Regions from separate parts of the Homo sapiens genome. Here all the other regions are linked to region 1. The links are contacts of gene promoters, found by promoter capture Hi-C in blood cells and fetal thymus (Javierre and others, 2016). All regions are on one chromosome and are shown on one strand. Each heading gives the region's core, a stretch centred on a gene start or on the middle of the fragment in contact. The rest is flanking DNA. Distances are from core to core; before and after follow the strand shown. Region 1 holds the start of GTF2E2 (general transcription factor IIE subunit 2). Region 2 holds the start of PPP2R2A (protein phosphatase 2 regulatory subunit Balpha). Region 3 holds the start of TRIM35 (tripartite motif containing 35). Region 4 overlaps BNIP3L (BCL2 interacting protein 3 like).

Region 1 (4,323 bases), core at 705-3,204:
TTTCAGTATTACTATTTTGAGTTGGATCTGAAAGAAGGGAATGATTTACCGGGCTGAGGAAAGTAGGAGACAGCCTTGGGAGGAGGGAAAGCGTGGGGCCAAGAAGAAGAAAGGAGAATTGTCAAGTGAGAAGGTGGGAGCAAAAAGTAAATTTCTAGAACAGGAAACATTTGTGTCTTATTTCACGTTGCAAAGGCAGGACCTCAATCTGGACTTTAAAAAAATTACTCTAAAAGATTTAAATAGGCCGGGCGCAGCGGCTCACGCCTGTAATCCCAGCACTTTGGGAGGCCGAGGAGGGCGGATCACGAGGTCAGGAGTTCTAGACGAGTCTGGCCAACATGGTGAAACTCCGTCTCCATTAAAAATTTAAAAAATGTGCAGGGTGTCGTTGCGGGTGCCTGTAATCCCAACTACTTGGGAGGCTGAGGCAGGAGAATCGCTTGAACCAGGGACGTGGAGCTTGCAGTAAGCCAAGATCGCGCCACTGCACTCCAGCCCGGGCGACAGTGCGAGACTCCGTCTCAGAAAAAAAAAAAAAAAAAAGTAAATAAAGCCGTACAGTTTACAACAAACTAAATGCTTACAGTATTTGACCCTCGCAACTCTAGGAGCAAACAGGTATTAGTGTTATTCCTATTTTAATACGTGAAATCTGAAGTGAAGCTGTCTGGTTAAGGTCGCACAGATGGAAGAGCCAGGGCCAGGAACCAAACCTCCTGACTCCTAACTCAAGTGCTCCTTACACCAGACCTGGAACGCTGGTAAAGGCCTTTAAAACAAAGGCCACCTGTGAGGTTCGGGAACGTTCAAAGGCATCTAGAGCAGAAAGCTTCGCAATGTCTGTCTTTCACCATCACGTGCTCCGCCTAACTTTTCCTCCTTTTTCAAAGACTACCCAATATGTGTACTAAGTTTTAGATCTCTGGACCCCCCTATGGAGTAAACAGGCTACATCACCATGTCCATTTTACAATTAAACAAAACCACAACTCAAGGAGTTGGCTGGTTCCTCCGTGGGCAGACACGGAAAACCCAAAAATTAAACTGAAATCTGCCTCCAAGCCCACGATTCTTGCCACCATTCGACCTCTTTCAACCTTACTACTTCCCCTCTCTTTCACTTTTACCCAGCCTCGTTAGTGTCCCTGGCACCTCAGGACCCGGCTATGAAAAGCAGGCTGCTTCGCCCTTAAATGACGGAAGTGGGGAGGTGGGCGAAAAGGGGGCCGCAGCGTTGTTTAGACTGCAGAAATCAACTACTATCGTTAAAGTTTAGGGATCATCACAAACCAAATCTCCAAAAGGTAGCCTAGAAAGCAGTCCGCGTATGAGCATCATTTTAAATCACAGTCTTGAGCTGGCTGGACCCCGCGGCTGCTCAAACTCCACACACGGTTCGCTTGGCTACCGCGCCCGTGAACTTGGAGGCTTGGAAGAGGCACAGTCAGGCGGCAGACCGCGAATTTTCCCTCTTTCCAACCCAAAAGTTTGCTCAATGAACCTCTGGCCTAAAGACAATGCTCCGGGGAACGGTTCGCGTGCTGGGTGTTTCGCTTCGAGAACGGCGGTCCCAGCTTCCCGTGAGGTGGAGGTCACGCTCAGCCTCCCGGGAGGCGGCGGCGCGCCTGCGTCCCAGGGAACAGCAAGCCGGGGCTCTGCGCCCCACACCCGGCGGCCGCAGCCCCTACCTGAGTGAGAAGGGCAGCCTCGCACGACTCGCCGCCCCCTTCCTGCGCCTCCGCCTCGGCCGGCCGCCCACGCCGGCACTGCACCCTCTTCCTGCTTCTCGTCAGCGCCCCCGCCTGCCCGCACGCACGCCCAGCGCTGACCCGCCAGGTCGGGGTCTCACCACTGGCGGTGGCGGCGGCGGCGGCGGCAGCGGCGGTAGCTGAGGCGGCGACTGGACCCGGGACTCCGCCCGCCACTTCCCGATCGGGTGCTAGGAGCTCAGTCCCGGCAGCCACCGCGGCGCCAGGGCAGCCAAGCGAGCGCATGCGTCATTGCGTGCCCCGCCTCTGGTGCCGCGGGAGCGGAACTATCCCGCTCTGGCGTCCTGGGGCCTCCATGACAACGAGGGAAGGGCTGGGGTGGGGCCGAGAAGGGGACTGAAGTGGGAGGCGGCGCCACTGAAGATGGAAGGCAGCTTTCTTTATAGACACTTTATTAAAACTGCTACAGCCTGCTCCGGCGTGCGCTGGGATGTGGTGAACCCAGCCGACGACGCTATCTTTCAATGGTTACTTTGTGTTTTTTGTCTTTTTCTTATTAGAGACGTGATCTCACTCGGTCACCCAGGCTGGAGGGCAGTGGCGCGATCTCGGCTCACTGCAACCTCCGCTCCTGGGCTCAAGCCATTCTCCCACCTCAGCCTCCGGAGTAGCTGGGATCACAGGCGAGTGCCACCACGACGGACTATTTTTGGTTATTATTGTTGTTGTTGTTTGTATTAATAGGGTCTCACAATGTTGCCCAGGCTGGTCTCGAACTCCTGAATTCAAGCGATTTGCCCGCCTCGTCTTCCCAAAGTGCTGGGATTACAGGCGTGAGCCACCGCGCCCGGCCTCAACGGTTATTTTGTGAGTTTACCCCAGCGCCACACACCAGCACCTGCACACCGAGAACGCGGTTCCAGCTCTTTTACAAGCGAAGAACAGAGGGCCAGGAAGCTAATTAATAAATGACTTGCTCAAGACAACACAGCTAGCAAAGGCAGCCTGATGTGGAGCACAGCCCAGCCTCTTCCCTCCACCCCTGTGAACTGTCTTAGAAAAGGATTTTGGATTTAGAAGCCAGATAAATGGGTGGAAATAAAGCAGTGGAAAAAATAATTTCATTGCCCGAAACCTGCAGCGTGGCAGGCCTTCCCTCACTCTTATAACCTAAAGCGGCAGTACAGCCAGTGCTCAGCCATTCTGTGGCTGTCGTTGAATTACTGGTTACTCTTCAAGTTACTGAAACTGTGGCTCAGTTTTCTCATCGGGGAAATGGGGATAATCATTGTACTACTACAATGAGTTACTTGCATTGGACTGTGGTGAAAATTAAGTGAGAAAATACCTAAAATTTTATTCAAAACTTGGAAAAAAGTCAAAAGATAATATTTTGTGACTTTTATTAGTTTCATTCTAGAGAATTTTGTAATAAGCCTACTTGATCATCTGACACCCACAGGAAATGTAACTTTGTTTGAATAACAATTGATTAGGGCCCAGAAGATTTACAAAAGGATGAAATCAAACATCAATTGGTAGGAAACTGATGAGGTGTTAGGGGAAAAAGGGGCAGGGAATTCAGTGTGTATATAGATAGATAGATAGATAGATAGATAGATAGATAGATAGATAGATAGATAAAATTCCAAAGGTTAAGGTTGCATTTTTCTGAGAAAAATTAACCGGTTTTGTATCAACTGAGCAGTTTTATTTCAGCATTCCTTTCCCCAACGATTATATAAATATCATTTTTCAGAACTGGTAGAAATCCGTTTTATGATTCTGCTGGCTCCCTTATTAATGAGTGAGAGACTTATACATATGGACAATGGCTAAACCGCATATGATAATAACACTCTAACTCACATAAGCCAAACCATAACCTCTACAGCAATCAGCTCAAAATGGTCAGAATTTTCTCAAGAAGGCTGCCAACTTTTCTATTTTAACCTCTCTGTCCTCAGACACCAGTATCAGCCAGAGAAAGCCAAATATTCTTCCCAAACCAATCCTGTTAAGTTTCCTGCTTCAAGTTAGACAACTTCCAGCTTCCCCTGCCAACATCCCTAAATCAGAACACATCAGAAGCATCCCTTTTTTCCTCCACTGTAAAGTCTCCCCTCTTCCCGATTGCTTTTGAGTCTCTGCCAAACTCAAGTGTGGTCGCTGCCCCTATTGCTATAGCAAGCTCTGAATAGTCTCTGTTCTCACTTGGCAGGTCTACATTTCTTGCGTTAAATAAAACTTTGACACATATTCACTATCTCTTCCCTTGAGACTTAGAAATCTAACAATTAGAGAATCTTTACAGAATTAAATCTTTCACAAAGAAGGTGCTCAATAAACGCTTACAGTGAGTAATTTCATGTCAATATCTTGACTCATTTCAGCCAGTTGAAACAGCTAAGCTACTAATAATATCAGAATGTACTATCTATAATCCAGACTCTCAAATCTCAATTGTGTCCCCTTTACCCAGAAGTTAGCTCTTGTTATTAATATCATTGAAACCCTCTCATACAAACCCCAGGAAACCTTATTACATTACAAACTCCTGCTTATACTGCCTGTTGCATGTGTCTAGGTCTTAACACTGAAAGCAATGGCT
Region 2 (4,161 bases), core at 1,564-4,063, 4.4 Mb before region 1:
CCCAGGCTGGAGTGCAATGGCTTGATATCGGCTCACCACAATCTCCGCCTCCCTGGTTCAAGCGATTCTCCTGCCTCAGCCTCCCGAGTAGCTGGGATTACAGGCACGCACCACCACACAAGGCTATTTTTCTTGTATTTTTAGTAGAGATGGAGTTTCTCCATGTTGGTCAGGCTGGTCTTGAACTCCCAACCTCAGCTGATCCACCTGCCTTGGCCTCCCAAAGTATTGGGATTACAGGCGTGAGCCACCGTGCCTGGCAAAAATGTTTTTTTAAGTGGAAGATAGATATGGAAGTGAGATGGACAAGAGCAACCCTTGACTCTGGGCTAGCGGGTGTTCTGGCCTCTCCTCCTAATGGCCATTCTGATGAAAGGGAGGTGGCTTATGGTCCTCTGAAAGGGCTGACCAGGGCCCAAAAAGAGCCAGGTCGTTTACACCAGGGTGCCAGGGTGCACTGGCCCTTGATTATCAGACCCAAGTCAGCCCATTCCACAGGCATGCAGTACCCCCAAGGCTCCAAATAATGTTCTTAAAACAGCACCTGGCACAAAGTCGGTGCTATATACATTTTTGTTATAATTATCCCAGTTTCTAGGCAAGCTTTATTGGCTTCTAAGAACAAATCATTTATGTAAACCAAATCATTTTCAGGGTATGTAAAGTCTATATTCTCTTTTTCTGTCTTCCTTTCTCTCTCTCTCCTTCCTTCTGGGTTCTGGTTAAGATGGAGAGCTCTCCCTGGAGAGTCTGGGATTGAACCACCAAAGAAGGGCAGAGCAAGCAAAAAGGAAAATAAATGAAGGCATACCCAGAGAAATACATTTATGAAAAACACCAGCATTGAAGAAAATACAGCACGCAGTGCACTGAAGTTTTGTACCTGTTGTACAGGTAGCCAAAAGATGACACATAGAGGGTGGATTTTTAGTTTTGATTAATTCATTGGTAACGTGGGAAATATTCATGCAGAAACAGAGGAATGATCATGCAGTGGTGCAGTTGTTCCTTTGAAGGAATTTTGAACGTTGCATTACAGTTCAACTGTCCTGGAAATCAAAAATATGGTAGAAAGTGGAGATGGTGGGGAGGACGTGTAAATATCTTTAACTCCCCCTTCTTGGTTTCCAAACGCCTTTATCACTCCATTCAGCCTTAGGCCAAATTCTGGATGCTTTTACAGGTGTTTTTCACGTGTAAAATGTGCATATCTATCTCCTAGGAGTATCGTGGAGATGGAATGGGATATGTAAAGTGTGCTGTATATAGCAACTGCATCATTAGAGCATCTTTCAACAGAAGTGCACATCCCCTCATAGCTGATGACTGGCATTTCCTGTTCATTTTTTTCCTTCTACCTCTTAACCTTACTGACGATGCTTTCAATACAAATCTAATAATAACGGCAGCTAACATTTATCATGTGCTCAAATTAAGTCATTTCATCTCCCCAACAATCCTATCAGGTAGGACTGTCATCTTCATCTCCTGAGCCTTGGAATCATATTAGGCAGCCTGGCTTCAGAGCCCAGCACTTTTTGTGTTTTTGTTTTTGTTTTGACAGGATCGCATTCTGTCTCCCAGGCTGGAGTGCAGTGATGTGATCACATAGCTCACTGCAGCCTTGACCTACTGGGCTCAAGCAGTCCTCCTACTGCAGCCTTCTAGTAGCTGGGACTATAGGCACGCCATCATACCTGGCTAATTTAAAAAAAAAAATTTTTTTTGGAGAGATGGGTCTCCCTATGTTCTCCAGGCCGAACTCGGAACTCCTGGCCTCAAGCGATCCTCCCACCTCGGCTTCCCAAAGTGCTGGGACTACAGGCGTGAGCCACCGCGCCCGGCCCTGAGCCCAGCTCTTAAGCACGCAGTCCAACACGTTTAGCTGGAGAGACGCCGGGTCACTTCTTGGGCCATACCCTCTCATCACAAACTCAGGTTTCTCTTAGAAATCACTCTTAGTGTCCGCAGTGCCTAGGACTCCCGCCTTGGATCCTGGGGCCCACGAGAAGGTAATTTAATTCACCCAGATAGAACCAGCCCAATCGTGTCCCTCTGAACCCCGTGAACTTTCACCCCGGCTGAGCAGTAAGTCTGCACCGCTGTCCCTTTCTTTGTGGTCTCAGGGCTAATCCAAAGTGACAATTTCCTAAGAAGCAGTACGGGGTTTTTTGTTTGTTTGTTTTTTGTTTTTGAGACGGAGTCTTGCTCTGTCACCCAGGCTGGAGTGCAGTGGTGCGATCTCGGCTCACTGCAACCTCTGCCTCCCGGGTTCAAGCAATTCTCACACCTCAGCCTCCCAAGTAGCTAGGATTACAGGCGCACACCACCACGCCTGGCTAATTTTTGTATATTTTTAAGTAGAGACGGGGTTTCACCATGTTGGCCAGGCTGGTCTCGAACTCCTGACCTTGTGATCCGCCCGCCTCAGCCTCCCAAAGTGCTGGGATTACAGGCATGAGCCACCGTGCCCGGCCCAGGTATTCCTAGAAGACATAGGACCCCATGAATCCTTGCAGGAGAGCACGTAAACTGGACTCCTAAGCCCGCCCCAGAGCCCCGGCGCTAGTGCTCGAGGCTGGGACACTGCTAGGTGCACACAGCCGCGGCCTGGCGCAGGCGGTGCGGACAGAGGGTATGCCATGGCGAGACGCTGGCGCGGCGCAGGCCCTGCCGGCCGGGACACGGAGGGCGGGGCACAGGCGCAGCAGGAAGGGGGCGTGGCCAAGAGCCGCCCGGCCGCTCCCCCGCCCCTCCCCCTCCGCTCTCCGCCCCAGCCCGGCGGCTCCGCCCCCTAGGTGACGTCACTGGCCAGGCCAGCCGGCGCCATTTTGAAAGTGGAGTCGCCTGCCCCTGCCGCTGCCGCCGCCGCCGTCGCTGTCGTAGTCGCCGCCGCCGCTGCCGGAGAAAGAGCACGAGCGGGGAAGCCCCAGAGTGAAATCTAGCATCCTGCCGGCTGGTCTGCCCGCCCCTCCTTCCTTTTCCCCCCGGCCCCCGTCCCCTCCCCCCGCAGGTGCCATCCGCCGCCATCCGCCCTCTCTACCCCCCCATCCCCAGGTGAGGGGGGTGAGTTCAGGAAGCGGAGACCCCGAGGAACCCAGCAGGGTCACCATTTGCAGCGCAACATGGCAGGTAAAGGAGAAATCCCCCTCGCCCCCTGACAAGGCACCGCTTCCTTATTCCTCCCTCCATCACCCCCTAGCGACCGCCCGCGCCTCGCGCAGAGCCACAGGGCGCCCCTCGGGTTTGAGGGAGTAGGGTCCAGAGGGGTGGGGTGGGGGCGGGGAGGGCTCCCGGGAGGCAAGTGGTCACGGTGAGAGTCACTGGGCTTGGAGAACGGGGCTGGCGCCGTGGCGGGGGTGGGGGTGGGGTGTGCCGGCGAGCTTGGGGTGAGGCGTGGGTGGGGCGGGGTGGGGGTGCGTGCAGATTTGTCCCTCCCGCTCGGGAGCCTGGTGGATCTTCTCCCACCTCCCCACCTTGCCCCCCGCCTTTATTTTTTTTTCCTGCAGGTCTTCATTTAATTTCTATTTTTCCCCCTGCTGCAAGCCTTCTTGGGTGTATATACACATTTATTTTGCCTCGAGAAGGAAGAGCGCCTTATAAGTTAAAATACAGTGGGGGCATATGTGTATTTTTTCCCCACTGTAGATGCCAATATTTTTGAGACTGGAAGCCTAAATTTTTTGTTTCGAACCATTTCGTTTCCGTTTCTTCCCTTTTACCGCCGAAGAGTGCAAGGCCTTTCATGTACAGCAAGTTGCATGAAAATAATTTAAACTTTGCGTTTAGCATGTTAGCTTTTTTGCAGATGTCCTTTTCCCAAAAGGGTTTGGTAGAGTTAGTTAAAATAGTTGCGGAGTTCAGAGATATAAATAGCAAGGAGGAGAGAGATTTAGGTAGAAGCTTTGAAGGGGAGGGGAAAGGATGTAGAGAGAAAACCAGTTTGGAAATAAATTTAGCAAGGAATAGGGGTGATGGGGGAGAGAGAAGTAATGTAATTGCTTTGAGAATTCTTTTTGTACATGTTGGTATTGCTAAATCTTTTCCTTCATGTAGTAGAATCAGTTGCAGATTTAGATTCAGTTTCTTTCTCCCTAGAGCCCCAGGACATTTTCAATCATTTCGACCTCAGTACTTGCACGTGAAATAGAAACATTCCGA
Region 3 (4,178 bases), core at 1,132-3,631, 3.3 Mb before region 1:
TCCTCATTCTAACTACCCTTAAATTCCCTCAGTGCCTAGAAAGTCAGGCTTTCCCACTTCTGGACCCTTCCAAATGCTGCTGCCTCTATCTGAAATACCCTCTTTCACCTGGCTAACACCTCCTCTTCCCTCGGGTCTCTGCTGGAAGCTCCTTGAGGCTGGAAATGGTCTATCTTGTCTCCTGCAGTATCCCTGGGACCTTGCAGTACCAGGCATCTGCTGGTGCATGGCTCTCTGCTCTTGAATCCTGGCTTGGCCCCAGCCTGGGGGCTCTGCCTGGGTGTTCTCAGCCCTGACCCCAGCATCTCCTGATCAGCACCTCGGCCAGCCAAATAGGCATCAGTCATGACCTGAACCATGATCCCTCCTTTACCTGGGCCCCAGACCCCTGGCTGGCCAGCACTTATTCCAGCTGTCCCAAATCAGGATCTGTCACTTCTGCCAGTGGAAACAGGAAAAGCATTGACATGGACCCATGTTAAACAAAAAAGATGACAGGAGTAACAGGGTTACTCATTGAGACATGCGTACTGACAGCATCCTTACATTCCCCTTCAATTAAACTTTGTCAAATGCATTTGGAGCGGAACAGACTTCCGTATTTAAAAAGGTATTGCAAAAAAAGAAGGCAGGGCCACAGAGGGGGCCAGAAACCAGGCACAGGGGACTCGGGCAGCTCCTCCTCTCCAGTCCATGCAGCTTCGGGCCAGCTACCCAGTGTTCTCCCAATTGGGGCTCTGACTCATGCATTAGCAGGTGATGAAATAAATTCAATGTTTCACATTCTGGGTAATTTTTAAAAGTAACAGAGGCCAGGCGGAGTGGCTCACGCCTGTAATCCCAGTAGTTTGGGAGGCAGAGGAGGGCAGATCACTTGAGGCCAGGAGTTCCAGACCAGCCTGGCCAACATGGTGAAACCCTGCCTCTACTAGAAATTAAAAAAAAAAAAAAATTAGCCAGGCGTGTTGGTACATGCCTGTAATCTCAGCTACTCGGGAGGCTGAGGCACCAGAATCGCTTGAACCCAGGAGGCGGAGGTTGCAGTGAGCTAAGAGCACGCCACTGCACTCTAACCTGGGCGATAGAGGTCTCAAAAAAAAAAAAAAACAAAGGGAAGTAACAGAAAATATCAGAGTGCCATGGACATGTTCAGAAAACTTTTGTTTCAACTGATACATATGTTCTGGGTCACAAGGGAAAATGCATTGCTTCCTATGGGCTAAGATTAAACGTTTTGGAAAATGCTGAGTTAGGCTAACCCTTATCTTCTATTCATTTTTCCTTCCTATATCAAAGAATTCTCCATGTTAGTTTTGCCCTGTAAGTTGCTCCTGGGTTTATGTATAGTCACTAGAACTCTAGATATGGAGATGCTGCTTTATAAACCAGAATAGGCCAGCCAGCCAGGGTCAGAGACCTCTCACTCAGATAATACAAACCGCGGGATCAGCTTGGCAAGTAGGTGACTGGTTTGGGGGAAATCTTAAGACTCCACACCCCTGGCCAGGTCTGTGGCTCCTCCTCCACTTCTAAATTGAGTGTGCCAAGCTACAGGGCTCGTGGGCTGCACCCACATCCGTGCCGCTTAAAGGGACCTGGGCCACACCCGGCTGGCACAAGGGGTGCATGGCCTGGGCCCTTCAGAAGCAAGTGTCGCTGTCTTGGGAACATCATGTAACCTCATCTGTCACTTTCCGTTCGCATTCTCTTCTCCCAGCACGGGCCCCTGGGCCGACCTTGAAGAAGCAGCCAGCCCTGAGAACCTGGGTCGGAGAGGTGGGGTCCTGCATGCTGGGAGCGAGACGCGGGCACACTGGGCTCTGGCAGGCAGGAGGGGCGGGAGCCGCAGAGCCAAGGGATTCCGGGTTCCAGACCCGGCTCGGCCGCCTCGTGCAAATCGCTGCTCTTACCCGAAAGTCGTGGGCAGTGTCCTTCACCGGCTGCACGCGGTGCCCCTGGTGTCGGGGGTCGGCCTGGCAGGAGCAGCACAGCAGCTCCTTGTCCTCGAGGCAGAAGAGGCTGAGCTGTCCGCGGTGCAGGCGGCAGACACGCGAGAAGCGGTAGCTGGTCCAGCGCGCGCCCTCGGCCTCCTCGCGCAGCAGCTTCTCCACCAGGTTGTTGAGGGTGTGGTTGGTGCGCAGGTCGGCGGGTGACGCGCGGTCTTTGCACACTGGGCAGGTGGGCGACACCTGCACCTCCCAGCAGCGGCTCACGCACCCGCGGCAGAAGTTGTGGCCGCAGCGCAGAGTGACTGCGTCGCGGAAGGGGTCGTAGCAGACGGCGCAGAGCAACTCCTCCTTGAAGGAGCGGGAAGGCCCGGGGGACACGTCGGGACTCCGCTCCATGGCACGAGCAGCCGGCTCGGGCGCCCGGAACTTTTGCTCCGGCCCCTCCCACCCGCCCGGCTGCCAACGCCCGCGACCCGAGTGCTGGGAATCGCCCAGTCCCTTCCCCTGGAACGCTGAGAGACAGCGGCGCTGGCCAATCGTGCGGGGGGGATGGCGAGGGGGAGGGAGGGGGCGCTCGGAGGAGCCCCACCCACTTCCGGTGTGCGCGGGAAATCTTGGGAGAGCGGGGTGGGCCTTCTGCCCGCAGTTCCCGCCTCCTCAGGTCCGGGCGGGTCCCTGGCCGGGGTAGCACGGAAGGGTCTCCCAGGCGGCGTAGTAGGGCTTCCGTGTTACTGGAAACCTACTTCCGGCTGCAAATGGGAAAAGGAGCCTCTACCTTAACCAATCCCCGGGAACCTCAGGCCCGCGGATGGGAGAAACCAGAGATGCCAACTTCCTGCTTCCGAAGTAGTGGCTGGGTCTTAAAGCACCGTGAGTGCAATCACCACTTAAGTTTGCAGCGCCTTTTTGAGGACCTATGCCACTCTTGCATTAGTCGTTTACTTATTTTGGCCAGTCTTCTTCTGGCCCGCCGCGGTAAGGAGAAACAAGAGAGGGGTGGCGGCAGAAGAGCTCCGAGAAAACCTGATTCTTGTCCTGTGGTTGAAAAAGTGAACAGGTCATCATGTTTCAAAGTCCATTTACTCATGAGTACAATGGCTGTAATAGCTCTGTTTCCATGAAGTGTGAGGATAAAGTGAAATAAATGTGGAAAGTGCTCATGACAACCACTGTTTTAATGGGCAAGTGCCCATTAAAACAGTGAAATTGAGGACTTCTGCAAAGTTTAGCTGAGATAACTAGAGTTCATGCTCAATTCTTGCCAGGTACAGTAGGCCTGGATGGTTCCTTCAGATCTTCATTCCTGCTTCAGTTTGATCACTTTACAGCCTCCAGATGCAGAATACTTTTCACACGATGCACTTTCATTCCTTTTCTATTGGGAGACAATTCACATGTGTCATGTTCCTGCATGTCTTGAGAGAGCAGAGGCACTGACTGCCTTTTTCCAACTATCTTTTCAAGGATGTTTCTGCATTGAATAGCCCTGGAAGACAGAATTCTTGTCTCTCCAAAGATCTGGCAGACTTATTCCCAATTATAAGAGATGTGAGTTTCCTAAACTTGGGGCCCCTCTCCTGTAATGCAACCTACTGTAGCCTTCATCACATAGTCTTGCAAGAATTAGGGCTCAGAAACTGGCCCAATGACAATACTGTGACTACTATTATTGCTGTTAGTATTATCCTTTGTCTCTGACCCAGGAGTTTCATCTTTTAGCAGTATTCATGAAATTTTGGCATGCAAACTTGTTAGTGTTGAAACTCAGAAAACAATACCCCAAAATGGCCTCAAAAGCAGAAATTTTTCTCTGCCCTCCTATCTCTCAGTCCCCCAAGGATAGCCATAGAAATTAGAATTCCTTTTCCCCAAGGCAGGTCATAGAAACCAGAACCCCTTTTTCCTAAAGCCAGTCTTGAAACCTTAAAATATTACTCTTTCTCTCTGCCTTTCTGTGGAATAACTGGCCATAAAGAAATTATCTGACCTACCTTGTTTGACTGTAGGCCATAAGAGCCCGATTCCAGAGAGGGTCCTACCCCATACCTGTTAGGGGTAGAAGGTGTCTGAGTTAACAGCAGTGAATCTGTATGGGTCTGCAGCAACCTCAATTCTTGCCTCCTTGGAAGAAAGAATTAGACTGAGGGGCATGATATGGTTTGGCTGTGTCCCCACCCCAAATCTCATCTTGAATTGTAATCCCCATAATTCCCACGTGTCAAGGGAGAG
Region 4 (4,031 bases), core at 784-3,283, 4.3 Mb before region 1:
TGATTTTTGGGCAATGGGCAAAACAACTTATTCAGGCATCTAGTACTATCCAAATTGCTGATAAGTCGAAGGACTTTGTTGGGTAAAGTTGCACAACTGAAAAACAGGAGAAGAAATGTACAGATTATCTTGCGTTTGGGATTTTATCTTTGGTTCAGGGGTCAAAGCAGGGTTTCAATAGCAAATTACTGAAGTATTTGAATAGTGAAGTATTTTTGTGATTTTTTTTTAACTTTACCGCTGTGGAGAGACTGTTCACTTTCATTAAAAATTACAGGGCAAATACCCAAACTCCTTCCAAGTCAAAAGGATGTTGTCCAGTTTGTTTTATTGTTAAGAAAACTATCAACTTCCTTAAGAATGTTTGAATAAGATTCAATAGGGCCGAATAAGGAAAATCAAAGTAGTAGTGTAAATCGTAGTATAATTCTTGTTGTTGAGAAGTATAGCCTTTTTTTTCTTTTCAAATTTTCTTGTTCTTTTTTGTTTTTTGTTTTGTTGAGACAGGGTCTTGCTTTGTCACCCAAACTGGAGTGCAGTGGTACAGTCATAGCTCATGGCAGCTTAGACCTCCTGGGCTCAAGTGATCCTCCTGCCTCAGCCTCCCAAGTAGCTAGGACTGCAGGTGTGCACCCCCACATCCAGCTAATTATTTTATTTCTTGTAGAGTTCGAGTTTCACTTTGTCACCCAGGCTGGTCACCGGCTAACTTATTTTTTGTAGAGATGGAGTTTTGCTTTGTTGCCCAAGCTGGTCACAAACTCTTTTTTTTAAATAGAAACATCTTCAAGCACAATGTCCTTGCTTTCTTGTTATGAAGAGTGCTCTTAAGGCCTTCATGGATTGTCACTGCCTCATAATAATGTTTTGAATACCTACGTAACTTGTATGTAAATACATACTGCTGCAAAAAGACCAACTTTTCAAAAATTTATTTATTTATTTTTTTATTTAAGAAGAATGCCAGTAACTCTTGTTGGCCTGGTCTGGATTTCAGCATCAGGTTGGCCTGGTCTGGATTCCTTTCAATAATGAATGAAAAGCTTTGAGGAAAGAATGTAAATATAATGAAATTTCAAAAGAGTTACATGTGGGCCTTGAAAAGTTAGGGGGAAAGATGAGGAGAAATACTCTTCATTCTCTCCTCCCCTTGTCCCAAAGCTCCTCTCTTCTTCTTCTTGCAAGAGGATTGAACTAGTGATTATAAAACTGTAAAGATTATACAACATACGGCAATGAGTATAATCACAATTATTGGACCACCCTTCACAGTCTATTATGTTAGAGAACGGAGAAGCATTCACAGAAGTTTCTCTGAATCTCTTAGTCATTCCCAAAAACCCAAACCAGAAAATATCTCATGTCATTGTATGTTATGTACAAATTGGCATAAGGAACAGCTCTTAGTTTGTAAAGTCTTTTAGATAATGGAGAAAGCTTCCAGCTTTTAGTTTTCAAGCTTGATCATTAGGAGGAGAATTCACTCTGTGGTTGTTTTCTACTTTGTGTTGCTTGGACAGCACAAACCTCTTATCTAGCCTTGTTTCCTTTCCAAGTAAAAAGGGACTTTGTGAGGATTGGTAGAGTTAGAACACTAAGAAATTCTGAGGCTGTAAATCAGGAACAAATCGGGTGATGGGAAACAGACGTGTTGTTCATCTATTGAGGAAGACACATTTGCTTTTTTATGTGTTACTCAAAAGATTAATATGTAGCCTCTTAATGCCTGTGTACATAACTTTCTCTGTACCACTATGTATTTCCATAGATGATATTTTTGAAAGAGAATTACCCTTAATTAATTAAAGGAAATCTACACTTTTAAGGCTGTTAATACCTATTGTCAAATTATTCTCCAGAATGTTCACTGAAGCCCTAATTGTAATAACAAAGTATTAGAAACAACCATCTCAGTAGTAGTTAACCATTGCCATTTAGATAATGGTTAAAGTATGGTATATCTTTATAAAAGATGAGATGCAATGCAGTTGTTCAAAAGAATGAATGTCAGTATATATTGATAGGGAAGACATCTGAAAAACGACTTACAGAATATGTCAGTATGTGTGTATGGTACAGTTCCATTTCTTTATAAAAACAAAAGCAAAAACAGACCTATATTTCATTGACAAAAACTCTGCAAGTCTCCATGTGAAACTGTCAAAAGTGGCTCCTTTGGGAGTAGGAACGGGAGGTTGGGAGAGATGTTAATTTTTAATTTTATGTACTGATGTTTACGTTTTCTAGGAACACATTTTTCCAGTAAGGAATGGTTTTTCTATGATATAGAATATAATTGTAGTAGCTAAAACTTTCTTAGGGACCTTTCTTATTGTTCTGCGTGCTATATTCATTTAATCCTCCTAACAAAGTCTTCGAGGTAGATACAGTTATTATCTCTATTTTATAGATGAGAAAACTGAGGCACAAAGAGGTTAAGTACCCTGTGCGAGGGTAACAGCTATAACTGAGAGTGGGAGCCTGGCTTCAGTCTCAGCCCCTGACCACACTATACCAGTGTATCCCAAGTACAAATTGTCCGCCTTAAGTAGAAATGCTTTCAGTTATGATTCAGGGTGTGGAGGCCACAGCAGAGATCACTTTTACTAAGCTTTTCTAGGTATGTCTCTTTCAGGTTCCAAAAGTATATATTGGATTATGATTGCTTATGTGTTTTTAATGAAGAAAATAGGATCCAGACATTGATTTGAAAGTCCTTCAAAAAAGTAAAAACCAGGTTGGGAGCAGTGGCTCATACCTGTAAGCCCAGCACTTTGGGAGGCTGAGGTGGGAGGATTGCTGAAGCCCAGGAGTTTGAGACCAACCTGGGCAATGTAGGGAGACCCTGTCTCTACTAAATAAATAAATAAATAAATAAATAAATAAATAAGTCGGGCATGGTGGCATGTGCCCTGTAGTCCCAGCTTCTTGGGAGGCTGAGGTGGGAGGATTGCTTGGGCCCAGGAATCAAGGCCGCAGTGAGCTGTGATTGTGCCACTGTACTACAGCCTGGGTGACAATGCAAGACTGTCTCAAAAGAAAAACAAAAGTAAGGACCAGAAAACCTGATATTGTTTGTTACACCCTTTTTTCTCTTCGATTGCCTACTTCAAGTGAATATTAATTGTATTTTAGGGAAGACTGACTTCCACAGAGACCTATCTGGAACTCCTGGTTCCTTACCTCTGCTTCTGTCAGAGCAGCTCTGGGTTTTGGTTTGTTACTATTGTACACATTAGGCTTCTATACAAGAAGAACTGGTCCCATTGGTTTAAAAATAAGTTTGAAAATCCTAGAAACAGTGAGAGTCAGAAAAAAAAACTGTTTTTATATACATATTCTCTCCCCCACCCCCTTTCTCTCCAGTTGAAATATGTTGCAGAGCTCTAAATTTAGGGATGCTTTTGGCGTATTTCTTATACACTCCAGAGGCACTCGAGATAAATTATCTTCAATGTTAGATCTCTCTTAGCTTTGCTAGTTGTATTTGTTAATCCATTTTGAGTTCTCTAGCCTGTGTCCATTTTATGTGTGTATAGAATGAGGCCATGGAGATGTTGTACAACTGTGTCGTTTGGCAGCAGAGTCCTAAGGAATTGGTGGTGACTATGGGATGGTGGTAGCCACTGGGGCTGCCTCAAATGGAAAGGAAAGGGTTCTAAGTATTTATAAAAGAAAATTCTAGTGTATAACTGAGCATCTTCTATTTACCAGCACTTGATACTACTAAATCGTCACAGCACCCCGGTGTTATTATTATCTCTGTTTACAAATGAGGAAGCTGAAGCTCAGGTCACACAGGTAGACAGGAAGTGATGGGGTCAGATTCCCAGCTAGGTCTGCCTTGGAGCTTTCCTTCTTGTGAGGGTGATGTTCAGTTCACTCTGGAACTGGTGTAGCCATCGCCACATTTAGAGTGCATTTTAGAGTTTGAGCCAGTTTTGATGATTTTACTTCAACTTACTGATGGAACTCCTTGTTCATCCCTGGAACTCTCTAACACTTCTGCTGGGAGTTTAGAGGGATGGCCA

What was found. Contacts are between HindIII fragments. The CHiCAGO score rates a contact against its expected background, and 5 or more counts as called.
Region 2: a contact is called between the fragment with the promoter of PPP2R2A here and the fragment with the promoter of GTF2E2 in region 1, in 2 of 17 cell types (activated CD4 T cells and total B cells). The highest score is 5.5, in activated CD4 T cells.
Region 3: a contact is called between the fragment with the promoter of TRIM35 here and the fragment with the promoter of GTF2E2 in region 1, in 1 of 17 cell types (activated CD4 T cells). The highest score is 5.3, in activated CD4 T cells.
Region 4: a contact is called between a fragment that was not itself captured here and the fragment with the promoter of GTF2E2 in region 1, in 1 of 17 cell types (total CD8 T cells). The highest score is 5.1, in total CD8 T cells.

Annotation. Positions count from the first base shown.
Region 1 is chr8:30,656,282-30,660,604 of GRCh38, forward strand. It overlaps GTF2E2 (general transcription factor IIE subunit 2), which reads right to left and starts at 1,955. Exons shown (of 8, transcript NM_002095.6): 1 at 1,692-1,955. RefSeq lists enhancers at 484-1,155, 1,827-2,498 and silencers at 1,540-1,629, 1,640-2,049. The HindIII fragment of the contact is 11,766 bases long and covers 831-4,323 here.
Region 2 is chr8:26,288,695-26,292,855 of GRCh38, forward strand. It overlaps PPP2R2A (protein phosphatase 2 regulatory subunit Balpha), which reads left to right and starts at 2,814. Exons shown (of 10, transcript NM_002717.4): 1 at 2,814-3,132. The coding sequence starts at 3,126. RefSeq lists a silencer at 2,616-2,965. The HindIII fragment of the contact is 3,300 bases long and covers 602-3,901 here.
Region 3 is chr8:27,308,891-27,313,068 of GRCh38, forward strand. It overlaps TRIM35 (tripartite motif containing 35), which reads right to left and starts at 2,382. Exons shown (of 6, transcript NM_171982.5): 1 at 1,911-2,382. The coding sequence starts at 2,345. It also overlaps a transcript of PTK2B not described here. RefSeq lists enhancers at 1,351-1,460, 1,861-2,080, 2,091-2,240 and a silencer at 2,391-2,600. The HindIII fragment of the contact is 14,003 bases long and covers 1-4,178 here.
Region 4 is chr8:26,385,953-26,389,983 of GRCh38, forward strand. The region is part of intron 1 of BNIP3L (BCL2 interacting protein 3 like); the gene reads left to right. Among named protein-coding and RNA genes, the nearest start is that of BNIP3L, 4.9 kb to the left of the region's middle. The HindIII fragment of the contact is 1,152 bases long and covers 1,458-2,609 here.